7 separate regions of the Homo sapiens genome follow, and regions 1, 2, 3, 4, 5 and 6 are each linked to region 7. Evidence: promoter capture Hi-C in 16 types of primary human blood cells and fetal thymus (Javierre and others, 2016). All regions are on one chromosome and are shown on one strand. The core of a region is centred on a gene start or on the middle of the fragment in contact, and the rest is flanking DNA. Distances in the headings are between cores, read along the strand shown.

The links. The method cuts DNA at HindIII sites, captures the fragments that hold promoters and counts their contacts. A CHiCAGO score of 5 or more calls a contact.
Region 1: a contact is called between a fragment that was not itself captured here and the fragment with the promoter of GKN2 in region 7, in 5 of 17 cell types (activated CD4 T cells, naive CD4 T cells, non-activated CD4 T cells and 2 more). The highest score is 13.7, in activated CD4 T cells.
Region 2: a fragment that was not itself captured here is called in contact with the fragment with the promoter of GKN2 in region 7 in 1 of 17 cell types (activated CD4 T cells); the score reaches 5.4 in activated CD4 T cells.
Region 3: a contact is called between a fragment that was not itself captured here and the fragment with the promoter of GKN2 in region 7, in 4 of 17 cell types (activated CD4 T cells, non-activated CD4 T cells, total CD4 T cells and 1 more). The highest score is 7.7, in activated CD4 T cells.
Region 4: a fragment that was not itself captured here is called in contact with the fragment with the promoter of GKN2 in region 7 in 4 of 17 cell types (activated CD4 T cells, naive CD4 T cells, total CD4 T cells and 1 more); the score reaches 6.4 in activated CD4 T cells.
Region 5: a fragment that was not itself captured here is called in contact with the fragment with the promoter of GKN2 in region 7 in 3 of 17 cell types (activated CD4 T cells, naive CD4 T cells and total CD8 T cells); the score reaches 6.6 in activated CD4 T cells.
Region 6: a fragment that was not itself captured here is called in contact with the fragment with the promoter of GKN2 in region 7 in 3 of 17 cell types (activated CD4 T cells, total CD4 T cells and total B cells); the score reaches 6.3 in activated CD4 T cells.

What each region holds. Positions count from the first base shown.
Region 1 is chr2:68,428,428-68,432,245 of GRCh38, forward strand. No RefSeq gene overlaps it. Among named protein-coding and RNA genes, the nearest start is that of FBXO48, 37 kb to the right of the region's middle. The HindIII fragment of the contact is 1,753 bases long and covers 491-2,243 here.
Region 2 is chr2:68,311,204-68,315,066 of GRCh38, forward strand. All of the region lies in intron 2 of CNRIP1 (cannabinoid receptor interacting protein 1), which reads right to left. Among named protein-coding and RNA genes, the nearest start is that of CNRIP1, 6.8 kb to the right of the region's middle. The HindIII fragment of the contact is 5,380 bases long and covers 1-3,863 here.
Region 3 is chr2:68,410,992-68,414,504 of GRCh38, forward strand. No RefSeq gene overlaps it. Among named protein-coding and RNA genes, the nearest start is that of PLEK, 47 kb to the left of the region's middle. The HindIII fragment of the contact is 2,729 bases long and covers 380-3,108 here.
Region 4 is chr2:68,389,408-68,392,971 of GRCh38, forward strand. All of the region lies in intron 6 of PLEK (pleckstrin), which reads left to right. Among named protein-coding and RNA genes, the nearest start is that of PLEK, 26 kb to the left of the region's middle. The HindIII fragment of the contact is 1,194 bases long and covers 1,033-2,226 here.
Region 5 is chr2:68,339,642-68,343,586 of GRCh38, forward strand. It overlaps LOC102724389 (a long non-coding RNA gene), which reads left to right. Exons shown (of 4, transcript XR_940224.4): 2 at 2,648-2,717; 3 at 3,083-3,146. Among named protein-coding and RNA genes, the nearest start is that of CNRIP1, 22 kb to the left of the region's middle. The HindIII fragment of the contact is 3,612 bases long and covers 1-3,252 here.
Region 6 is chr2:68,107,020-68,110,593 of GRCh38, forward strand. It overlaps LOC105374789 (a long non-coding RNA gene), which reads right to left. Exons shown (of 3, transcript XR_940223.3): 1 at 3,308-3,574. Among named protein-coding and RNA genes, the nearest start is that of C1D, 46 kb to the left of the region's middle. The HindIII fragment of the contact is 981 bases long and covers 1,558-2,538 here.
Region 7 is chr2:68,951,571-68,955,163 of GRCh38, forward strand. It overlaps GKN2 (gastrokine 2), which reads right to left and starts at 1,323. Exons shown (of 6, transcript NM_182536.3): 1 at 1,280-1,323. The coding sequence starts at 1,291. The HindIII fragment of the contact is 766 bases long and covers 1,162-1,927 here.

The sequences.
Region 1 (3,818 bases), core at 117-2,616, 520 kb before region 7:
AATCCCATGAGAGATAAAAAAGGAAGGAAGCAGAATTTGGGCAGGAAAATCCTTCGGACTGCAATGCAAATCTGACACCAGGGTTGGCCTTGAAAGCAAAGGGCAGTCTTTCCTACAGACAGAATTTGAGTGGGACACCTGGTGATAATATGTGTATGGACTCATACACAGTGATGAATGGCCTGTGCAGTTGTTCAGGGGCCTTTAAGGAAAAAACTGTAAGTTCAGAGACAGGAAGTCTAGTTAACTTTTAAAACGAATTCTATGCTAAATTCCAGGGATATCCAATCTTTTGGCTTCCCTGGGCCATAATGGAAGATCAAGAATTGTCCTGGACCACACATAAAATACAAGAACACTAACAATAGCTGATGAGCTAAAAAAAAATCACAAAAAACTCTCAGTGTTCTAAGAAAGCTTATGAATTTGTGTTGGGTCACATTCAAAGCAATCCTGGGTCATATACAGCCCACAGGCCATGGGTCAGACAAGCTTGGTATACTCCTCTAGCTCTGGCTCAACTAAACTCAAAATTCCTTTCTTCTCGCAATAAAACCTGGCACTTGATAAGAAAAACATTGGCTTTCATAACTATTATCTCTAAAGTTGACATCAATTTTTTTGCAGCTGAGTTCTTCACTATTCTCTGAAGGGGCTAAGGGAGTAAGAAAGATTGCCAGGAATAAAAAGTACTTCTGACTTATTTTAAATCACTATCTTGCAGGAATTAATTATATGATTTTAATTATGTGAAGTTTAAATTCAGGCAATATTAATCAACATTTATAAAAGTCAGAATAGAGATTACTTTTGGAGGCTGTGGTATTGTGATACATTAAGAATATAAGAAACATATATTAGGTCTTCATCCCCATTTCCTGGCACATAGCTCCTAAACACTTGTAAAATCCTGGATGATAAAGGCAAGAGGAATGTCTTTTGTTATCTATATTAATTATTGTATATTATTTCATCATATGTGAGTTTGTTTTCATGAAGTGACTCTTGGAGGCTGGTGGTTATCAGAGGAATCACATGGTTGATTACAGGGTTGGAACTTTCAGCACTCCCTCCCTCCCCCAACCTCTGGAGAGGGGAGAAGGGCTGGAGATTGAGCTCAGTCACCAATGGCCCATGATTTAGTCCAGGGTTCCCCAACCCCCAGGCTGTGGACCAGTACCAGTCTATGGCCTGTTAGGAACTGGACTGCAAAGCAGGAGGCGAGCAGTGGGTGAGCAAGGATTCCCGCCTGAGCTCCGCCTCCTGTCAGATCAGCAGCAGCATTAGATTCTCGTAGGAGTGTGAATCCTATTGTGAACCGAGTATGCAAGGGATCTAGGTTGCGTCATCCTTATGAGAATTGAATGATAAATGTAATGTGCTTGAATCGTCCTGAAACCACACCCCCCATCTGTGGAAAAATTGTCTTCCATGAAACTGGTCCCTGGTGCCAAAAAGGTTGGGGACCACTAATTAGTCAATCATGCCTACCGAATAGAAACTCCATAAACCCCCTAACTGACAGGACTTGGAGGACTTCAGGTTGGTGGAAACACAGACCTGCTGGGAGGGTGCAGCATGTGGAGCAGGACGGAACCTCTCAGCTCCACCCTCATACTTTGTCCTGTGTATCTCTTCATCTGGCTGATCTTAAGTGGTATCCTTTAAAATAAACTGCTAATTGTAAGTAAAGCACTTTCTTGAGTCCTGTGAGCCATTCTAGCAAATTATCAAACCTAAAGAGAAGGTCATGGCAACCCCCAATGGATAGCTAGTTAGCCAGATGGACAGGTCACAGTTTGGGACTACTGACTGGTGTCTAAATTTGGTTTCAGCCTTGCGAGGCTGAGTCCTCAACCTATGGGGTCTGCACTAACTCTGGGTAGTTAGTGTCATGAGTAAATTGTAGTACACCCACTTGGTATCTGGAGAGTTGGAGAATTGCTTAATGTGAGGTAAACTCCACACATTTGGTGTGAGAAGTATTTTGAATGTATGAATTTTTCTTTCCTTTTAGGGGTGCAGTGTACAAATTGGGCAGTTGCAGGAGGGAATCATAGGCTGCTGCTGGGATGTGCTATGACTTGGTCTATGAATTAGCTACACTCAATTAATATGTGGAAGACAACTCTTCAAGCTGTACACTTAAGATGAGTGTACTTTTTGCATTTAATTGTATATTCTTTCTATAAAAATTATTGTATGAGTTTCCTATTGTTGTAACAAGTAACCACAAATTTAGAAGCTTAAAACAACACAAATTTATTATCTCACAGCTCTGGAGGTTATAAGTCTGAAATGGGTCTCGAGATGTTGGGAGGGCTGCATTCCTTGATGGAGGCTGTAATTTTCTAATTTTACTATTCACTTATCTTTCAACAGATGCTCAGTGATTGTCAGCCACTAAAAGCCTCTAATTACAACCTATCTGCACTTCTAATTCCACCCTATTCTCCCCATGCAGGTAGATGACTAGGTTAGGCTTTTATTTTCAAGAAGGCTAAAGAATAAGGTACATTCAGCTTGTTAAAGGCATATTCAACTTATTGATACTATCCTGTTGCCTATACATTTACAGACATTCATGTGACTATCATTATTATTAGAGAGAATGTTCTAATCATTCTCTCTCTATAAAGGTGTTTTCTCAGGGCCCACTGTATGGTTAGAAATTGGAAAAGACCTTCCAGTTTCCTTCACAGATGATTCTCCTCACATTCTCTCCATTTGCTTTTTTAATATATTTTTTGAGACAGGGTCTTACAATGTTACCCAGTCTGGAATTCAGTGGCGTGATCAAGTCTCACTGCAGCCTCAACCTTCTGGGTTCAAACAATTCTCTCATCTCAGCCTCCCAAATATCTGGAATTACAGGCCTCTCGATATATTGTCCAGGCTGGTCTTGAACTCCTGGGCTCAAGTGATTCTCCCATTTCGTCCTCCCAAAGTCTTGAGATTACAGGTGTGAGCCACTGTGCCTGGCCTTCATTCAAATTTGCCTGTGTATTTTTTTATTCTTGACAAATGAGTCAGCAAAGTTGCAAATGTCCCCTTATTTGACTTGGTTCAGTGTTTCAATGTCATTCCAAAACAAAGATGCCAGGGATGCTGTTCCAAAGTCTGTGGTCTCTATGTGTATGGAAGCACTAGTGAGGGCACGCTATTTCTCTTTCTACTCAATCCACACACTGGGATGATGGCTACAAATGCTCATTGTGTTACGGGATCCTTGTGGTGTCGCTTCGCCTGCTGGAAACCTCTGTGGCCAGTGGTGCCTTTGCCCAAGTTTTGTTCTGGCCTGCTGGGCTTGTTCCACCCAGTTGGCCCAGCAGGCTGCACTCAGCTCATGCTACTGGCCTGGATCCCATGCCTGCCAAGGGCAAGCCAGGCGTGGAGTAATGAAGGGTATGTGAGTGAGCGTGGGGTCTAGCCACCGCACATAGCTGGGCATGCCAGCTGCTGCTGTGGGGCAAGCAACTCCAGGTGCTGGTGTGGGTGCTGGCTCCCTGCAAGGCTGCATCTGGACTAGGTGCACCACAAGCAGCTTCCATAGCTGGCACTGGCAAATGCTCTGGGGCCTGGAAGCTTGCAGACTCCAGAAGCTGCAGGGCTCCAAAGAGGGAGTCACAGCCCTGGCTCAGGGAACACCCAGGCCTGGGATCCCCAAAGGGCCGCAGCTCTTCTCTCCCTCTTTTTGCCTGCAATGTGGCGAGCAGGGGCATGTTTCAGCCCTGTTTGTGTTACAGCTCTTTTAGCCCTGCCATTCAGTGGGTCCTGAGTTCTTGTCCTATGTCCAGGAAGAATGAGGTATGCAGGCA
Region 2 (3,863 bases), core at 1,293-3,792, 640 kb before region 7:
GGGGGAAAAACCAGTTAAGATGCATCATAACCAAACTACTGACAAGCAGAAAGAACTCTATGAAGGGATCATTTTACTGTATATGTATTATACTTAAGTTAAAATATTTCAAAGCAAACAAGGGAAGGGAATAAATATAGGATTAGAAAACAATGAAGTAGAAAAACAGAGTGAAGCATGTGAAAAAAAAAGCTAGGATTTTGAAAAGGCCAATAAAACTGAAATCTCTAGCTAGACTAATCAGAGGGTATAAAAATAAAAATTTTGAATAACAAGAGTGAAAGAGTAGGTCGGGCGCGGCAGCTCATACCTGTAATCTGAGCCCTTTGAGAGGACAAGGTGGGCGGATCTTGTGAGGCCAGGAGTTCGAGACCAGCCTGGCCAACATGGCAAAAGCCCATCTCTACTAAAAATACAAAAAATTAGCTGGGTATGGTGGTGCGCACCTGTAATCCCAGCTACTTGGGAGGCCGAGGCAGGAGAATTGCCTGAATCTGGGAGGCAGAAGTTTCAGTAAACCGAGATTGCACCACTGCACTCCAGCCTGAGAGACAGAGTGAGACTCCATCTCCGGGGAAAAAAAAAAAAAAAAAAAAAAAGAAAAGGATCAAAGAGTAAAAGAGTAGACATTATTAGAGATCCTAAGACACTGAAGAATGGCGGAGATTATAAACAACTTTATGGGAATAAAGTTGAAAATTTAATTGAAATAAATGACTTCTAAGATAAATTACAAAAACTCAGGAAATAAAACCTGAATAGCCCGATATCTATTAACGAAATTGAATTTGTAATAAAAAATCTTCAAATAAAGTATAATCTATGCCTTCATTGGTGAATTCTGACATTAAGAAAAATATCATTTCTATATAAACTCTTCCAGAAAATAGAAGAATGAACACTTTCCGAATCATTTTATGTAGCCAGCATTACTCTGATACCCAAAACTAGACAAAGGCATTATAAGAAAAGCAAACCATAGACAAATATCCCCCCCGGAACATAGATGTCAAAAATCCTTAACAAAATATTAATGAATCAAATCCAGTTTTACATACCGAGAATAAACCATGACCAGTGGTATTTAACCTGGGAATTCAAGGTTATTTTAACTTTGAAAAAGCAAGGTAATCTACCATAAACAGAATAAAACACCTTATGATCATTTCAAAAGATACAGAAAAACTATTTGAAAACATGTTATAATACGTTCATGATTAAAAAAACATTCAGTAAACCAGGAATAGAAGAGAACTCCTTTAACCTGATAAAAAGATTTACAATAAAGAACCTTACAGCTACTATACTTTGTATTGAAAAACAGAATGCTTTCTCTCTCAGACTGAGGGACAAGAATGTCCACTCTCACCATTTCTATTTAGCAGCATACTGCGAAGGTCCTAGCCATTGCAATTAGGCCATAAATAAAATGAATACAGATTGGAAAGAAAAGAGAAACTATTTACAGATGACATGATAGCATATTTAGAAAATCCTAGGGATCCTCCAAAAACAGCTATTAGGATTAGTGAGATTAGCTAAGTCTCAGGATTCAATATCAATATACAAAAAAAATCGATTTTATTTCCATATACCAGCAAAGATTCCATTTACATTATTCAAAAATATGAAATAATAAATTTAACAAAATATGTATAAAGTCTGTAGAGGAAATACTGTAATATATTGTGGAGAAAATTAAAGATGACCTAAGAGATATTTCATGTTCATGGTATAGAAAACTCTATATTAAGATGTCAAATATCTTTAAGTTGACCTATAGGTTTAATGGAAACTCTATATCCCAATTTTTGGAGGAATTGACAAGCTCATTCTAAAATCTATATAAAACACAAAGGACCTAGATTAAGCAAAAGAACTTAGAATAAACAAAGCTAGAAGATTTATGCTACCTGTTTTAAGGACTACAATATAGATCAAACAAGATTGTTTTGGGTCTTCTATGTCTTTGGAATTTCCAAATTAAAAAGACATACATTGAGTATGTAAAGCAACTAGAATTCTCATACACTGCTGGTGGATATACAAAATGGTACAACAGTGTGGATATTTCTTACACAGATAAACACATACTTACCATGTGATTTAGCAATTGTCCTCTTAGGTATTTACTCAAGAGAAATGAAAATATGTTCACACTGAGACTTATACTCAAATGTTCACAGCAGCTTTATTCATAATAGCAAAAGCTGAAAACAACCCAGATGTCCATTTATTGGTAAAGGGAGAAATTATGGTATATCCACACAACATAATATGCTACCCAGAAATAAAATGAACCAACTACTGATATGTGCAACATAGGTGAATCTCAACATTATACTAAGTGAAAGAAGTCAAACAGCACTGTTCCATTTACATGAAATTCTTACATAGTTAAAACTAACATATTGAGATGGCAAGCTCAGGATAGGTTAGGTTGGGAGGAATTAACTGCAAATAATTTTCAGGGTAATAGAAGTGTTCTGTTATCTTTATTGGGGTGGTGATTATATAGTAGCATCTACTTGTCAAAACCTATGTAACTGTAAAGTTGGTGCATTTTATGTTAATCATATCTCAAAGCTGATTTCAAAAACTTCAATGATTTCCTATAGTCATTAGGATAAATCCAGTGGCAAAAAGGTTCTATATCATCCAACCCCTACTTACCTCTCTGGCTTTATCTTATACTGTCTTTGCCTCACTCTATGCCCACCATGTTGGGCTTCTCATCCATTAGAATACATACGCTGTCTCCAGCTCTTGACTTTTACAACTACTCTTTCCTCAAATGCTCTTTCTTTCCTCAACTCTTATTCATCCTTCATTTTTTCCTCAAGAAAACCATCCCGCAAATCTTGGACTAGGATAAGACCCTTGGTATATACTCTAACAGCACTACTTTTTTGCTATACTTTTCATATTAGCAATTATTTACCTTATCATTGATAATCATGTATAAAGTATGTTTCCACCCTCAAGATCAGAAATTCTATGAAACCCGGGTTATCTATTTTGTTCACCACTCTTCCCCCTGAGTCCCTGATATACAGGAAATCCTCAAATATTTGCTGATAAAGCAAGCAAATTTTAAAAATCTAAAAATTCTAAATAAAAGAGCATATAGAATTTAGCAATATATTAATAATACATGTTTAAGTAGGGCTTATTGTAAAAAATAAGGTTTAGTATTTGGAAGTGTATTACTTTATGTAATTCATCAAATATATCAAATAAGATAAATTATCTCCAACTACTGCTACTAGCTGTAGTTGACTGCTAGCAGCAGTCAACATTATTCTAGAAACATTAGACAATGCAATATGACCAGGAAAAAAAAAGACAGTTATATTCAGATTCTGACCATCTATATGAAAAACCCAAGATGATTTGCTGAAAAATTTTAGTAAGCAAGTTCAGTAAGGTGGTCAGTTACAAAGTATATGAATACATATTATAAAAACAGTGTATCTAAAACAATGCAGTATTGGTGTAACAATAGATAGATCAATGGAATAGATTAGGGAGTATAGGAGGAGATAAAATTTTTGCAATATAAGAAATTTCTATGAAACTGACCTTTGGAGAAGCATAGATTATTTAAATAATTGTATTAGGACACTGTGGGCAAATACTTTCCAATATAAAAGTAAGAACTGAAATAATATCTAAATCTGTAATTCATCTAAAATTTAACAAATGAGACCATAAGAGTTCAGATGAAAATACACAAATGCCACTGTGTATATGTCTATATATAATTAATTAATCTGGGAGTCAAGGAAGACTTTCTAAGCTGGATCTTAACTGCAAAATAATAAAGGAAAAGGCTAACATGTTTGACTACAAAATTTATATTT
Region 3 (3,513 bases), core at 494-2,993, 540 kb before region 7:
TTAAAAAAGGATGAGTTCATGTCCTTTGCAGGGACATGGATGAAGCTGGAAACCATCATTCTCAGCAAACACAGAAAGAGAAAACCAAACACCACATGTTCTCACTCATAAGTGGGAGTTGAACAATGAGAACACATGGACACAGGGAGGGGAACATCACACACCAGAGCCTGTTGGGGGGTTGGGGGCTAGGGGAGGGACAGCATTAGGAGAAATACCTAATGTAGTTGACGGGCTGATGGGTGCAGCAAACCACCGTGGCACTTGTATCACTTGTATACCTATGTAACAAACCTGCACGTTCTGCACATGTATCCCAGAACTTAAAGTATAATAATAAAAAAAAGAAAATATATTACTGATTTAAGGAGAGATATTAAGCTTCTCTTGTAGATACACACAGAAATATACACACATACAGTGGCTAAAATTCTACCCGTAGAGAACGGTTTCCAAAAGCAGAATGAGGAACTTCCTTGGGTTAAAATAGCAACAGTGAGCCAGGCAAGGTGGTATATGCTTGTCAGCTACTTGAGAGACTGAGATAGGAGGATCCCTTGAGACCAGAAGTTCAAGGCTGTAGTATGCAATCATCATGCCTATGAATAGTTACTGCACTCCAGCCTGTGGAACATGGTGAGACCTCATCTCTAAAAAACAAACAGACAAAGAAAACCCTAGTCTCTTCGTGTTTGTTTGTAGCAAGCTAAACAGAGGGTCATCATCATTTCTTTTGGATGTTGTGTGAAACCTGATATAGACAATCCTCATCAGCCTTAGGGTAAAAAGAAAATCACTAAAGTAATTACTTAATATTTTGGATTCCATTTTGGGTTCTGCTTTAAATAAGGAATTTCAGAACTGCAAGGTGTATTGGGAGATGTCATAGAGGAAAGCGTAGAAGAAAGAGAAAGAAAGTTATGAGGAAGTTAATTTAGCTTCTTTAAAAAAATAAACCTAGTGTGAAATTATAGCCCTCAGTGGTTTTGGCTCAGTTTCAGGGTAAAGGGAAGGTAAAATTTAGCTGTCACTGAGGGAGAAAAAAGAGGATGGGAGGAGAGTTTTTCTAACACCACATTTGCTATTTAATTTGAGCTGCAGTAAGTTTCAAGGGGAAAATGCACAAGGCTGTTAATGGGAGGTCAAGTGGTAGAGTGGGAAAGGCAGTGGTCTTGGAGCCTGGAGCCTCAGTTTGAATTCCTGGTTTTACTGCATTTGTGACATATCTTGAGTATCAGTTTCTTTGTCTCTAAAACGAAAATAGTATTCTTCTCATAGGCTTGTTGTTAGGACTAAATGAAATAATACCTGTAAGTCACCTGAAATGGGTGGCACTCCACAAGTTCTAGTTTCCTTTCCTCTGACCCCTCTGCTGTAGAAGGTACTCATGGCAATCTACACTCTGTAGTAGTGGCTTTCAACTTTTGGTCTATGTCAGAATTGCCTGTGGAATTTTTTTCATGGAACTTATGCCTGAGGCCCAACTTTAGGAATTCTGATTTCCTAAGCATGCGGTAGGGTCTATATACTTGCACTGCTGCTTTTTAAAAAAATGATCGGTAATTTCTACCAAAATTAAAGTTAAAAACTACCGATAAATTGCTTGACTCTCCACTGCTTACAGTTCAGACACTGATGCAATAGCCTAGCATTTAAGGGCCTTCACAAACTGGCCCTGACTTCCCTTTCCAGAAGGATTTCCCCTCTGCTCTCCTTCACTACAGACATACTGGCCTCTTGTTGGTCCTTGGAGGATTGTCAGCTTTTGCAACCTTGACTTGCCTATATAACCCCATGGCCTAGAACATTCTCTGCTCCAGCTCTCTGTTTCTCTTATTCTTCTTTTTTCTTGAAGGCTTAGCCCTCCCTGTTATTCATTGTACTTTTCCCCACTTCCATGATAGACCGTCTGCCACAGAATATCTCTACCATCTATTTGCACCAGGCATTTACAAATAGTCACATATCGTGTTGGATGTTTTAGGGTTGGTGTTTTTTGGGGTCAGAAAAGTATTCGTGCTTCATAATTTTTTCAATCCTTTCTGATGCTTAACATGGTGCTTGTGCATAGTGGGTACATTATCAATAGCTGATGGAATGAAGTAATTACTGTTATCATGAGGAGGCTCCTTATACAGGAATACCTTGTTTTACTGCATGTTGCTTTATTGTGCTCCTCAGATATTGCTTTTTTGTTTGTTTGTTTTTTGTTTTTTTGTTTGTTTTTTTTTTTTTTTTTTTTTTTTTACAAATTATAGGTTTCTGGCGACCCTGCATGGAGTAAGTCTATCAGCACCATTTTTCCAACAGCATGCACTCACTTTGTGTCTCTGTGGCACATTTTGGTAATTCCTGCAATATTTCAAACTTTTTCATGCTTATTATATCTGTTATGGTGATCTGTGATCAGTAATCTTTGAGGTTACTATTGTTATTGTTTTGGGACACTATGAACCATGCCCATCTAAGTCCACAAACTTAGTAAATATCTGTTGACTGCTCCACTGATTGGCTGTTTCCCCATCTCTCTCCCTTTCCTTAGGCCTCACTATTCTCTGAAACACAACAATATTGAAATTAGGCCAATTAATAACTCTACAATGGCCTCTAAGTGTTCAAGTGAAAGGAAGAGTCGCACATCTGTCACTTAAAGTCAAAAGCTAGAGATGATTACTCTTAGTGAGGAAGGCGTGCTGACAGCTGAGACAGGCTGAAAGCTAGGACTTGTGTGCCAGACAGTTAGCCAAGTTGTGAATTCAGAGGAGAAGTATCTGGAGGAAATTAAAAGTGTAACTTTAGTGAGCACATTAATGGTAAGAAAGTGAAGCAGCCTTATTGCTGCTATGGAGAAAGTTTTAGTGGCCTGGATAGAAAATCAGGCCTGGCATGGTGGCTCGCACCTGTAATCCCAGCATTTTGGGAGGCCTAGGTGGGCAGATCGCCTGAGCTCAGGAGTTTGAGACCAGTCTGGGCAACATGGTGAAACCCAAATAAAAAAAATACAAAAAATTAGCCGGCTGTGGTGGCATTAGCCTGTGGTCCTAGCTGCTTGGAAGGCTGAGGTGGGAGGATCTCTTCAGCCTGGGAGGTCAAAGCTGCAGTGAGCCAAGCTTGTGCCACTGCACTCCAGCCTGGGTGACAGAGGGAGACCCTGTCTCAAAAAAGAAAATCAAACCAGTCATGATATTCCCTTAAGCTAAAGCCTAATCCAGAGCAAGGCCCTCAACACTGGGGCAAGACTCTCCACCAGCAAAAAGATTGTGACTCACTGAAGGCTCAGATGATTGTTAGTATTTTTTAGCAATAAAGCACTTTTAAATGAAGGTTCGTACATTGTTTTCCTAGACATAATGCTATTGCATACTTCATAGACTACAGTGTAGTGTAAACATAACTTTTATATGCACTGGGAAACCAAAAAAATTGTGTGACTCCCTTTATTGTGATATTTCGGTGGTTGGAACTGAATCTGTGATATCTCCAAGGTATCCTGTGTATTGATGTGAGTTTAGG
Region 4 (3,564 bases), core at 380-2,879, 560 kb before region 7:
TCTATAGGCTCCACGGGACTGGGGGATCTGATTTATTTCATGTTAGGACCCTGAATGTCCATCTTAGTGATTAATGGAATGGGCAAGGAGGGAAGAACCAGAGAAGAGCCCATATTTACATTTATAAAGAGGGACTCTGGGCTGGGATAGCTGAAAGGAGGTATAGGTATGGATTTTGAGTTTCACAGGGGGAAGTGGGACATTCGAATGGAAAAATTACCTTCATATCAGGTTTTAAGAGAACAGTGTCCTAAGAAATATATGGCAAGAATTTATAAAGAATTCATGGACTATTATAGTATTTTTTTATGACAGGGTGACCAGCTGGCTAGATTAAAAGAAAGGCATGGGGCAGAGCCAGCCTTATGCCGGGAAGGCTCGGGCAGTTGCCTACGGACAGTTTGCCCGCTGCTGCTTTCTCGTTGGTTTTGCCAAATATTCCTATGTTCCTGGCTCTTTGATTGCAGGTGCTGGAATGTGGCTGTTAAGACAAGAAGAGTAACTTGGGAGGAAATTTCTTTATTTTGTTGATTTCTTCCATAATTCTATATTGTTATCAGTTATTTCTTGAATTAGTTGATTGGGCAAACCCTAATCTAGAATGGGGCTCTTGGAAAGCCAAGGATGAAGGCTAACAGTAGATAAAGTTGGGACTGGACTGGAGCCACGTCTCAGTGAAGCAGCCCAGTAGGAGACCTGGGATGGTCAAAAATTGTGTGTGGGTAATGAGTGTCTGGATGTATTTTGAAGACAATAGGGACAAGGATTGAACTTATGTGTTTTCCTTTGCCTTCCTTTGTCTGGCCTTTGATAGGTACAATTTAGCCTTAGCTAGCTCGGTTGGTGCACATTTGGATCTCCCAGGGAACTGTTAAAACTGCATGCCAGGCCAATTTAATCAGAGCCTCTGGATTTTTACAGCTCCCAAGTGATTCTGATGTGCAGCCAAAGCTGAGAACCACTGAGCCAGCCTTTTTCTTAAAAGCTAATTTATTCTATTATCAGTATACAAGTTAAATAGTCTTTCTTAGAAGCTTCCTTTTTATGTGAAGAAAACAGAAATCTACGTGCATTCAGGAATTTTGTTCTTTTACAATATTCTTTCCTCTGAATTTTTTTTCAGAGGTTGGGGAGCAAAAACCTCTTCGATTTGAATTGACACTTCCCCTTAATGTTTCTAATCTCTTAGCTCAGTGGTTAGTAACCATAGTTTACATCAAAATCACCCAAGGGATTTTCAGAATTTTAAAAACTTTTTCTTAAAATTCCAAAAGTAAGCCTCCCTTGTGTTTACTGCTGGGAGTTAGCCAGGATTAACTTCATAGAAGGCTTGTTATAATGGGAAGCCTCACAGATGGGAAGTAGCTGTGGCTAACTGGAGGCCATTATCCCTGCCCCATTATTTTCTCATCCCAGGATAAATAATCCTACTTGGCAGCAAGTTTGAGGATGAATGATCTTAGATTATATTCAGTATAATCCCTTTTTACATAATTGTTTCTGTTATGACAATGAATAAAGCATCTGCTTGTTTAATTCTCAACCACATTTAGATTCCTTGAGGGAGAGGAACAATGTGTTATATATGCTTCTCTTGTATCTGCTGCAGAGTTCAGCATCCTTCTTGATTTATCATAGGCAATGAACACTTGGGGAGCTAATTAAGTCAAATATAAGTAGATGGCTTTGACAGTTCAGTAACAATTCTTGGAAACCTGAGGCATACATGCATTTCTTAATACTCCTTAGAAAATGCTCATTAAGTGAAAGATGACCAGAAATGTACCTGCTAACTTCCAACTCTTCAACACGTCACATTGTGATGTCAGTGAGGGCTTAAAGGGAATATGGTGGTTGGCTGATTTCACATCCTCCTGTTACCTTCCTCTTCCATTGGCTCATAATAAGTTGGTGATTGTCCAGCAATTGCATAATACAGCATGACATGTGTGTCTGTCAGTGAAGAGGAAATGGTATGGGGTGGCAACTTTAGTGTCGTTATTCTGAAGGGCAACATTAGTTAAGGCAAAGAGCAGCAATGTATACTTTTGGAAGTCTATGCTTTGCAAAAGCCATTTTGGACATGATATAGCAGGTAGGAATATTTTCTGTCCTTGCATATGACTCTGCAGGGGTTCCAGCTCCATCCTTCAGGAAGTAGAAAGTTCTTTGGAAGTGAGTTCCTTCACCAAATGTTTTGCCAAAAAACTTAGGCCCATTTCTGAAAGCTTCCTTGAAGCACCTCTGGATTTATGAAGGAGGCACTGTTTGCTAAGACCACACATGTTTTATTGCTTTCAGCACAAGTAAAATGAAAAATGTTGGAAAATTTGTATACATGCTTGCCAATATGTGGTGCTTTAGAAATTACAAATAATATTTCTTGTATTGGCAAGATAGAAACTCCGTATCTTTTAATATAATACTATTTTTGGCTTCTGGAGTTAAGTCATTTGAATTTCCTGTGGGAAATCATAGAGTCAGGTTTACCATGACAGTTTAAAATCTGCTACACACTAATGGAAATAACTTGGTAACTCACAGCAAGTACAAACAGATATGAAGCAGCTGCTATATGCCAGGCACTGTGGCCCTGGGAAACAAAGATAAGCAAGACACAAATCCTGCCCTTAAAACTCAGTCTAGACAATGTCAGTGTTTAATTCTGTTGGGAAAGGCCAAGTCGTCACCTTCTTTCTTCTTCTTCTTTCTTTCTTCCTTCCTCTTTCCTTCCTCCTACCTTCCTCCCCCTTTTCTCCTCCTCCTCCTTCTTCTTCTTCTTCTTTCTCCTCCTCCTCCTCTTCCGCCTCTTCTTCTTCCTTCATCATGTCTGTTACAGCAACAGGCATTTCCATTCCTACTGCAGCTACCTAAGGTTTAGTTCCTAATGATTTTATGCCTGGATTATTGTGATCCTTCCCTAATGAATTCTTTTTTACTTACCATCTTTTCCTGGGCTTTCCTTTAATCTAGCCAGCTGGTCCATCCTGCACTTTGTCACCATATTAATCTTCTTAAAATGTAATTGTAATTCTTTCACTTCCTACTCAAAAGCCATCAACAACAAACCCTGCCTTTTATTTCCACTAAATCTCTGTCCACTTTTCCCACCTTGCCTCTGCTACTCTTCATGAACCCTACATTCTAGCCAGACTGGTCTTATTCATCAACACCTGAGTATGTCTCTTGCATTCCCACTTCTGCTCTTGTGTTGTCAGTTGTCCTCCTACCCACCTTTGTCTTGCCCATCTAAATCCTGTGTCCCACATGGATAAGTGCAGGTCTTTATGAGGCTTTCTTTGATATCCAAAGCCCACAATTACATATTCCCTACTTAATGCCTTTGGAATCCATTATCTATACCAATTATTTGATTTGGGCATTTGCTACTTTATATTTCAACATAGGTCATAAACTCTTTAAAGATCAGGGCATCTTAAACCTCTTTATTCCCCCTACATTACCTAACACAGCACATTGTACCTAGTACTGCCTTATATCATACTAAAACTGGAAGACAATAATTAGAAATAATTTAATCCACCTCTTCGATCTAATAACATC
Region 5 (3,945 bases), core at 197-2,696, 610 kb before region 7:
TTTGTGGGATCCGACTCTACTCCAGGTAGATAGTGTCAGAATTGAATTAAATTATAGGACACTAGTTGGTGTCTGCTGAAGGGTTGATTGGTGCATGGGGACAACCCCCCACCCCCCGTCCCCCTACATTTTGGCAACCAGAGGTGAAGTATACTGTGTACTGTGTTGACTGGTAAGGAAAAAAAGACATGTTTTGTTTCTCTGATACTCAAGGCAACTATACTGAAGATAACAATTTTATGTTCAACAAAACAAAAAATGCCTAAGCAAACAAAATCCTCAAATAATAACAACAAACAAAAACACCTTCCTTAGAAACCAGTATGAGATGATAAATATGCATTTCTCTACCACATCCAAACATTTTAAATTAAAGGATTTATTACAGGCACGGAAAAAAAAATGTGACTGACATTGTACTGCTTATTTGAGGAGTTATGTGAGAAAACTTGAGCTGAACAGTATGATTTTTATTTATCCTTATGATGTCTAGATTGACAGATAGACTAATGTCCTAGAATATTGTTTTTTGGGCCCATCCCCTGTTTATATGTCTCTTCTCATGTTCCCATAGTGAAAAGAGATCTTCCCTATAACTATATTCTAATATTAAGTTCTTATTTGGTGGAAATTTGAGAGAGAATTAAATATGAGTTCTTAAAACACTCTGGACCTCTAAATGGTTACACTCTATTTTTTATGTTTACCTTTGCCTTTATTATACTGTGCATTATGCTTATTTTATTAGTGGTGACATAAGAATTTCCATGAATAATTTCTGAATGAGCACTTGCAAATGCTAACTACTACAGAATCAGAGATGAGAGAACATGAGCCTTGGTACTAGATGGACCTGGGTTTCAATCCCAGCTTTGACATTTATTAGACTTTACAGAGGTTCTTAGCCTCTTTATGTCTCAATTTACCCTTCTGCAAAATGGAGATGTTACCTTCCTGGGATGCACAGATTAGGTGCTCTATAAATATGGCTCTATAGAGGAGGACATGGGGGTTGAGAAGAGACAGAATTTGCATTCTCAAGGGCATTTACCGAAGAGCATTCTGGAGTGAATCCTAAGGGATGAATCTGACTTGCTTTTTGCCTGCTTTTTTGTAGCCGTGACAAACTATGTGTTCCTCCCCTACTGCCTGCCTGCCTCTGCTGTTACCATGGCGATCCAGGTTCATTTTAGGAGTCTGTGACAGGACAGATTGGCTTTTGCAATTTGTAAAAATCTCACTCTCTAAAAATAAGGACCAGGCAGCCAGGGTGGCAGTAACAACACGGTGTTGGGTAGATTTTCTGCCACCTCTCAGCTACACGGTAGTAGTGGAGAACCTATTGTCAGCTTGGCATGCTGCTGGATTCTGGATCTCTGGGTTTATCTGGGGCATAGTCAACTGACTGATAAATTATAGCAGTTAAAGATTACCATTAGCTTTTCAGTTTCCCTCCCTTCAGTTTCTTTTTTTACACCGCGTGCCCTCATGTTCCGCCCCTTTCTAGTATCAAACACCTGCTCTCAGATCATTCATTCTTACCAAGTAGACACAGTAGAAGTCACTTAGTGGGCAATAAACATAGAGATTCCTATAAATTGATTTAAGAAAACTTTTTATTATGGAAAATTGCAAACATGAAAAAGTAGACTGAACTCATCACCCAACTATAAGAATTACCAATTCATGACCAACGCACATTCCCATGCAATTTCACTCTTGCCTATATTTTTGAGCAAATCTCAAAAATTGTTATTCCTTAGTTCATAAATATTTCAATAGAACCTCTAAAAGATGAGAGTTGGGTTTGTGTGTGTGTGTGTGTGTGCGTGTATGTTTTTAACACGACCACAGTACTATTTAAATTGACCTTGGAGATGGTCTTTATCACTCTTGGAGGAGTTTTAAAGAAAAAAATTATTTTCTTGCGCTTCTTCTAGTGAAGGTTTAAAGGCTGCAAGAACTTCCCTCCTGTAACAAACAACTAGAAAATTGAAAAAGTATATATAACAAGTGTTTTCAGACAGTGGACAACAGGCAACATAGGACTGTGAAACCTGGGAGGAGGGAAACCAATAAGGTGAGCCCTGTGATGGTTGCAGCTCACTGTCAGGAGCCAACTCAGGGCCACCGGGCAGGAAGGAGAACTGAAACAGAGCCTGGCCGACTCACCAAATTAAGGAAGAAGCAATCAGGGTTAGGGGGGTCCTGGCTAGGATTTGCAGGGCGGAATATCAGTGAGGAAGGGAGGGCAGAGGCAAGGACCTTGCCTTTTTTCACATAACAATGTATTCATTCATTCATTCATTCTTCGTTTAAAGATTATTTAGAGAGTTCCTCATATGTGCCAGGTCCTGTTCTAGATGCTGGGGTTGCAGCCTACCTAATGATGTATTGTCCATCACCAGCAGTAATTCCAGGTATCATACTGGGCATTCAACCAGTAAGACACAATGGGATTGAGTCTAACACTAAGTTTACTCTGTAGATGGGAAACAGCATGCAAACGTCTTTGATTGCATCAGTAGTCCCAAAACTACTTTCTGGGAATGCAGTTACCATGAACCAGGTCAAGGTATGTGTAACTTATTTTGAAACAGAAAATGTACTTCCCTAATACTCCACTTGCCTTTTGATATGATTTCAGTTACATAGAGCCAAGATTTAAGTGCCACTTTGCTGCTCTTCCAGTAAACAAGACAGATAACCAACTCATGGTATGTAATATTTGACATTTATGCAAGGGAATTGTGCTTTCAGAAGGCAATCCCGGGGTCATCTCTCCAAGCAGGCCTGCGGTTTACCCCTTTAGTCACTGGCATACTTTTGATGGGGATACACACAAACCCAGGTATATCATCAAGACAGTAATGATAAATATTATCATATGGTCAATAAAATAGAAAGAGATAGAGGATGATGGAAGGTGCTGCTTTATACCTTAGTGAGGGGAGTCCTTGTGTATTTATCATTTGCACACAGCTAAGTACATCCCTAAGACAATTGTTCAAAAGCAGATTTGCTGAGTCAAAGTATATGTGCTTTTATAATTTGGTAAATATTGCCAAATTTCCTGTTGCAGAGTTGCTCCATTTTGCATTTCTACCAGCAATGTGACTACTCTCCCCTACCTTCATCAACACAAGGTACAATCTAAGTTTTGCATTTGAACCATTTGATATGTGAAGAATAGCATCTCATCATTCCGTTGTGCATTCCTTTTATTATAAATTGCATCACACATTTTTCACAAGCTTAAGAATCATTTGAACTCTCTTTCTTGTAAACTGCCATTTCATGTCCTTTATTCATTTTCTGTTGTCTTTATCATATTTCTCTGTATGAATTCCTAGTACATTAGAGAAATTAACCTTTTGTCCATGATCTGTAATAACTTTTTTCCAATTTGACATTTGTCTTTTTATTTTGCTTGTGATTTTTTCTCATACGTACTTTTTTTACTTTTATGTAACTTGGTTTATTAATCTCTCATGGCATCTCCATTATGAAATTATAAAAATAATTTTATCCCATGGTTTTTGGATAGAACTTTCCTGGTATCATTTTTAATGTTTACATTTTTTATCTATCTGGAATTATTTTGATATAAATTTACCTTTTTTCCCATTTGATTATCTGTTACAACACCACTATTTATTGAATAATAATTTGATTACATTTCAAAGCATACATATCTACTCTTTATTGGCCACATAGAATATGCACACTGTAGGGCTTTGTCAAAAACTATAACCTCAAAACTATTGATGCTCAAGTTTTATCCTAGTAACGAACTATCAAAATGATCCCTGAGAGTAGAGTCTTTCAAGTTTTATCCCAATCATTGCGATGAAAAATGATTTATGTGGAGGATTTTTTAAAGGATATTCATCTGACATTTGTGTGCCTGTGTGTTTATTTCTTCTTATTTTTCCAATTACAGTT
Region 6 (3,574 bases), core at 798-3,297, 840 kb before region 7:
TTCAAGGCAGCAGAGAGCTGTGATCACACCACACCACTGCACTCCAGCCTGGGTGACAAAGTGAGACCTCGTCTCTATTTTTTTAATTACAAAAATTTTATATATATATAATTTATATATATATACTTATATATATATATCTACTTACCACTCAATGCTATGTATACATATATATATAGAGAGAGAGAGAGAGAGATGTTATAATTTTTCATTTCTTCATTTTATTTCAAATGAGAAAATGAATGCCATTTCTGATTTTCCAGGTCACTTTATAGTCTCTTCCATGCACATTTTCTAAGTAAATTTTTTTTATCTTTGAATTTTCTTTAAAATGCTACGTGTCTAATAATTACAATGTCTAGAATCTGTGGGGTGTGGGTCTATATCTGTTTTTAGTTTCAGCTGACATTCAATATGTATTCATTTCCTAGTGAGTTCTATAACAAATTACGACCAAATTGGTGACTTAAGACAACACAAACTCTTTCTCATACAGTTTGGGGTCAGAAGTCCAAAAGCGCTAAGCTAAAGTCAAGGCTGATTCTTCTGGAGGCTGTAGGAATGATGTTCCCTTGCCTTTTCTAGCTTCTAGGGGCTTCCATCATTCCATGGCCAATGACCCCTTCCTTGCATCATTCCATACTCCAACCTGTTGCATCTTCTACTTTATTTATTTATTTATTTATTTATTTATTTATTTATTTATTTTTGTAAAATGAGATGAGGTCTTGCTATGTTGCCTAGGCTGGTCTTGAACTCCTGAGCTCATGCGATCCTCCCACCTCAGCCTCCCAAAGTGCTGGGACTACATGCATGAGCCACCCTGCTTAGCCAACATCCTCTACTTCTGTAGTCACACTTTCCTCTGCCTCCCTCTTATAAGAACACTTGTGATTACATCTAGGACCCATTTGGATAATACAGAATAATCTCTTCATTCAAGATCCTTAACTTAATCACACCTGCAAAGTCCTTTTTGCCATGTAAGGTGATACTAACTAACAGTGCAGTGTGACAGGCTGCCCTACCAGGTTACTTAAAAGTATATGCCCGCTGCCTGAACCCTGAAGGCCAGATAGTAAGTCACGGCCATGGTACCCAGCTGAGGAGCAGGTGTCCCTGAGAGCCTAAACATCCCAGGGAGTATGTGAGAACCTACCAAAGAAAACAGTACCATCACACAAACACAGTAGGCAAAGAGCCCGAAAATTAGCTTAACAGCAGCTTAGAGAAGGGAGGTGGCACAGATCTCTTGAGCTGTGCTGCTGCCACTCAGGAGTGCCCTGCCCTGTATGTCTCAATAAACTCATCTACTTGCCAAACACAACTTCCCTAAATCATTCTTTGGTCTTTCGGCACCTTCCCAACTTGGGAGGGATAGGGGATGTTACAGTCTCAAATTTTTCTCATAACACACGGATCCAGGGCTTAGGACTGAGATATTCAGGGGTGCCATTTTCTAGCTCATTACACACTTACTGTGTCAGAGACTCAGTTGACAACAAGCATCCATTCCCCAACTCCCTTGCTAGTAAGGAAAATACTAATTTTTAGTCAAGCTTATTGTTGGCCAGTTAAAACTCCCTAGTTTTTGTTCACATCAAGATGTGATCATTGTGGTTAAATTTTTGACAATAAATTTTAAGTGGCAGTACTGTGTGCAAACTTCAGAATGTTTTGGTTTTGTTTTTTTTTAAATAGGCCTGCCCTTCATCCCTTTCCTTCCACAATTGGCCTGGAATGTGAGCATCTGGAGCTCTAGCTGCCATCTTGGGTCACAAGAACAAGGAGCATAACGTAGATCTGAGATGATTCATAAACTGTAAAGAAACAGGTCCCTGATGAATTTCTGATGAATCTGTCCTGGACACCTATCTCATGACGTCTTTTAGATGAAAACAAATAAAACTGTGTGTGTCTAAGCCACCATTATTTGTTTGTTCTGCTGTGTGAGGCTAAACTTAGTCCTAACTCATATCATCATTATGTCTTTTGTTTCTTTGTATATTTGGGGATTTTTTCATCATAATTATCCATTTGGTTTCACATAGTCTATAGGAATCCTGAAATCCTGAATTAATGACACCTTCCTCAAAAGGGATTTGAATTTATATATTTCTGGAATTACGTATGCTAACAACAAGGGACAGCTTTAGCCTCCTTAATTAGGACACAGGGCCTGGCAGCAGCCTCAGAGCTTAGCTTTCAATCCCTCATTTGTGACTGACACTGGCATTTCTCCTCCAAGTTTTGCAGTTTGCTTACCACTCAATGCTAGCTTTAGCTTACTATGCATGTTTGCATGTTGTTTTATTTTGTTTTGTTGACATTGGAAAGTTCCCTTTGTTTCTTGTAAGAGCTCAACGTATTTAAAAAAAGTTATAATCTGATTATATTGCCATTGTAGTGGAATATTACTTCAGAGTCCTGTTCACCATTCACCCAGAAGCGGCACTGACGCCCTTCCCATGCCAGTTTCACCATTAGATGTGCTACGAAGGCTTTATGTCAGATTGACCCATCCAATACTTTGATGCAAGCTTGGTACAAGCAGAGCTCTTCTGAAAATAATATTGTTACCACTTTCTATGTGGTAACAATTCACTCATGTATTTGTACTGGGGATTCGGTTTGCACTCATTACTATTATTTTCTTTTAGAGTTTCTGGGACCTCTTTCAAATTACACGAGTTCATTCCTCTGCCTGCAAAGATTCGGACCCATCCCCAGGGATGTGTATAATACAATTCTACTAAGGGAAATACACTATTACTCTGCAACTTGCTTTTTTAATTAATAATATGTCATTTTGCCTTTCAGTACTTATAGTCACCTCATTCTTCCTTCATAGCCGAATAGTATTCTGTGGTACATACCACAATTTATTAAACAATTTTACCATTGATAGACCTTTAGGTTGCTTCCAATATTTTGATATTATTAATACTGCTGTGCTATAATAAGCATATATATACTTGTATATGTGCACATATTTCTGAGTAAATTTATACTTATTGGTTCAAGGGGTATGAATATTTAACATTTTGATGGATGTTGCCAATTTGTCTCCACCAAAAGCCATGCTAATGTAATGTGTTTGTGACAGAGACTACTAATGCCAACTTAATATTAATTTTCCCAAATTCTATACTGAAAGAATCCCTATTTTATTTCAGAGCGGTGGTATGCCTAGCCAAAGGCAACATTTCACAGTCTCACTCTGAGCTAAGTGTAGTCACATGACTAACTTCTGTCCGCTGAACTATGAATGAAAGTGTCGTGTGGGGTGTGCTGCAGTGCCACTTACTGGAAGATGTGCCACTTTCCACCCTTCTATCTTTATTCCTTCTTCAAACCTTCTCAGTGGTTTGATGGCAAGGTCCTTGCAGTCATCATGAACCATGAAATCATCTTGAGGATAGGGGTAGTGGAGAAAAAAGAATGGAGCCTGAATCATGGAGAGACACTATGCAACTTTAGACTACCTACAGCTTGACTTTCATTATATGGGAGAATTAACCCATTATTTTCCAGGTCTTTGCTACATGCAGGTAAATACTATTTCTAAATAACA
Region 7 (3,593 bases), core at 73-2,572:
GGGATATTTTTAAGAACTGTCAGTGGGACTTTCCTACTTCCCTTTCCATCCCACCCTTAATATTTCTCTTCTGGGGACTGGGAGTAGAGCATCTAACAAAGACCTGTGTGCTGATATTCAGCCTTCCATAGGGATACATCTTCTCTTACCACAGACCAGCTCCAGCAACATATGATACTCCCGTATATTCTAGTTAATGAGTCTAAAATAGTGGTTTGAACAAGTAGTCGAAGGACTAAACCACTTTAATGGTATGATTAGAGAGAGCTTGGGGAGTGTCCTCTGCCCCAAAATGATCTCCCTTCCAACACTGTGGTTAATACACCATGGTTATATAATACTTTTGTGCTTCAGGGTTAGGTCTCAATTTGGAAAATCAAGACAGCCCTGAGAGAGGGAGCTCTTTAAGCTGATAGTCTTTAACACTTTAGAAAGAGGTACTTAACATTTTGCTTTCTCCCTTAGCAGCTGAATGAGAATAAAGGACAGAGACTAGGGGAGCGAATTCCATTCTAGGTCAGAACATAGCCCACTGTCCATGGGGCACTGCAATGTGGAACTACGGAGGCTGGGATCAGATGGAGGGGTGGAGTGGCCATAGAAGGAACGTTTTGTCCTAAGGGAGAATTTAGTCATAATGAGAGGACATTGAAGACACTCTGGCTGCTTAAATTTGCCATGATTGCGCCTGCAAGTGGGGATTCAGATGGATAAATTACATTCTAAATCCCACATTTACGGGCTTGGGAAAATCACATTCCTCTGCCTCTCAGTCTCCTTATCTGTAAAACGGGGAGAATACTACTCAACTCATAGGGTTGTTGCAATGAATAGATGAAATTATTCATGTGATATGCTTAGTCTAAGGCTTAGTATGCATTTGAGAAATGAGAGGTACTATTATTACTATTACTGATATTATTTTTAAACTACAGCTTCTCTCTTAGATAGCAAATGTAGTTGTTTTAAATAGCCCAAATTCCCTATGAAGCTCATAATAAAGGATTATTATTAAACATCCTCCAAATCAAAATTATCTAGAGATTTCTTTGTATTTTTGAATTTTCTTTTAAGTAAACATCTCAAAACAGGAAAAGGACAAAAAAAGTCAGACTTATTCAACACTATTTCTGCCAAAGATGTCATTAATTCAATCACAGAAGCTTAGAAGCATGCACAGTATCTGTCTAAGACTCCCAAAATCCATGGCATATTAGATATGAGCATTGTCTGCAAGCAGTCACCACAAGAGTATCAAGAAGCAGAAACAAATACTCACAAGTATTTTCATTTTGCCTGGGAGAGGAAGGTGCTGGAGTAAGTAAAGCTGCCCTGTGCAGCTTCTATCCTTTATATGGGCTTGAAGATGTGGATATCTCTTTTTCAAATGATCACTTTGGAAAAGACCATGTCTATATCTCTGACACACCCTAGCAAACTCCTTTATCAGAATTGAGATCCAACCACATACCTGATATCAATGAAGTTCATTAGTCAGTAATGAAAATTCACCACTTGGTCACTCTGTAAATATTCCCTGCTATTTGTACTATGCTGCACTTGACATTTTAATTTCCACCCTTTAAAAATATTGCATGATGCTTGTTCTATGCATACATTTTATAGCTCTACAAGGACAAACTTCTAACATCTCCTCCTAAAGGAAGAGTGCTTCCTTAAGGCCTGAGTTGGGCCCCAACTCAATGTCTTTTCACCACTGTTCTGCTGGCTGAATTCTTCCACAGAGGGAACGGATATGAGACGGGGTGCCAAGACAGTGGCTGGGGAGGCCTGCTTGGAGAACAAACAGCCTAGGACTTTCTTCGTTCTTCCCTTTAGATTTGGTGTCAATTTCCAGAAATTAATGAGGAACAAGACTCAGAAAGCATTCTCCCCAATTACCAAGTTTAACCAAATTTTTACATTAAGCTTCGCCCAAAACTGCACAAAACTGTAAGTTAGAGACCTCTAGTTATCTTGCAGAGTATTAAGAAATTCTTAGATTGAAAAAAAAAAAAAAGAGAGAGAAAGAGAATAAAGTTTAATTTGTGTAATTTTTTTAACATGACAATTAGAAATGGCTAGTTAGTGTCAGGGTATAATCATGAACTCAGGAAGGGAAATTTAAAAACAAAACAAACAACAACAACAACAAAAACAATAAACTGCGGCTGGGCGCAGTGGCTCATGCCTGTAACCCCGGCAATTTGGGAGGCCAAGGCGGGCAGATCACCTGAGGTCAGAAGTTTGAGACCAGCCTGGACAACATGGTGAAACCCCGTCTCTACTATGGTGAAACCCCGTCTCTACTAAAAGTACAAAAAAATTAGCCAGGCGTGATGGTGCTCGCCTGTAGTCCCAGCTACTCAGGAGGCTGAGGCAGGAGAATTGCTTGAACCCGGGAGGCAGAGGTTGCAGTGAGCCAAGATCATGCCACTGCACTCCAGCCTGGGTGATAGAGCAAGATTCCATCTCAAAACAAAACAAAACAAAAAACCCCAGTAAATTGCAAAATTGTAAAATATTGAGAATCACCACAGTAAACAAAGAGATAACATAAATAATGGCCTTGTTCTATAGCTGAAACAACTTTCTAACTTTAGCAGCTTTAAACAAAAATGGGGTTCTCAAAAAGTAGACATCTGGGCAAGTTAAGGGTTACCTAGTTCACTGGAATCTCCCTACCCTGGCTGTTCAGTGGGGGTGGATGTAAAACACGCAGCTTTATTAAATCTTTCTCAGATAGTAGCTGCAGAAAGGATTACAGTTTTCTAAGGCACCTGCAAATTTTCTCTCATATCTGGCTTCAGAGACTCAAAAAAGCAAACCAGCAATGCCCATAGACATTAGGGCTAATGAAAGTATCACATGCTATCCTCTACCATGTCCCCCTCCCGTCCTCAGGAGTTCTGGTTCTATAGTCTAATAATGATTGTTGCTAGTGTTTGTAGAGCACTCAATATGTTTCAACACTTTCCAAACACTTCGGATATATTGATTCATCTGATTCTCATATCAACTCTAGAAGTTACCTTCTAACCTGTTCCATTTTACAGGTAGGAAAACCAAGGTGCAGGGAAGTTAAGTAACTCTTTGAGATCACACAGCTTCGAAAGGCAGTGTTTGGGATCTGAGCCCAATTTAACTCCAGAGTCCACACTCTTAATTCTGAAAATGATACAGCCTCTCCTTGCCTTGCTGAGACAGGAGCATTAGCAAGGAGGCTTCTGCTTCCAGAATGCTCCCTAACTGAAAGATAGACTTGGAAACTGTCAGGCCCACCCACAACTCAGGAGTGAAAACTAAAATGAGAAGTGGTGCTTGTAAACGTTGTTATGAATGAAATTCCTGTCTTCACTCCCAGCTCCCCGCCGAGGGAGTGAAATTGCTGACCTGGAAGGGCCTGGTGCTGACGGTGCCCACCTTTGGATACCCTGACGTAGTAGGTCTAAAACTTCCGTGGGTTATTCAGATTGAACGCTGTTTCAAGTCTCATCTAAACCTCTTACAAGGAAGCTAAGAGCCAAACAGGTTAAGGAATTTGCCTAGGATCGTATATAGTTAGTATATAGTTTCTGGCAAAAATAACTCTC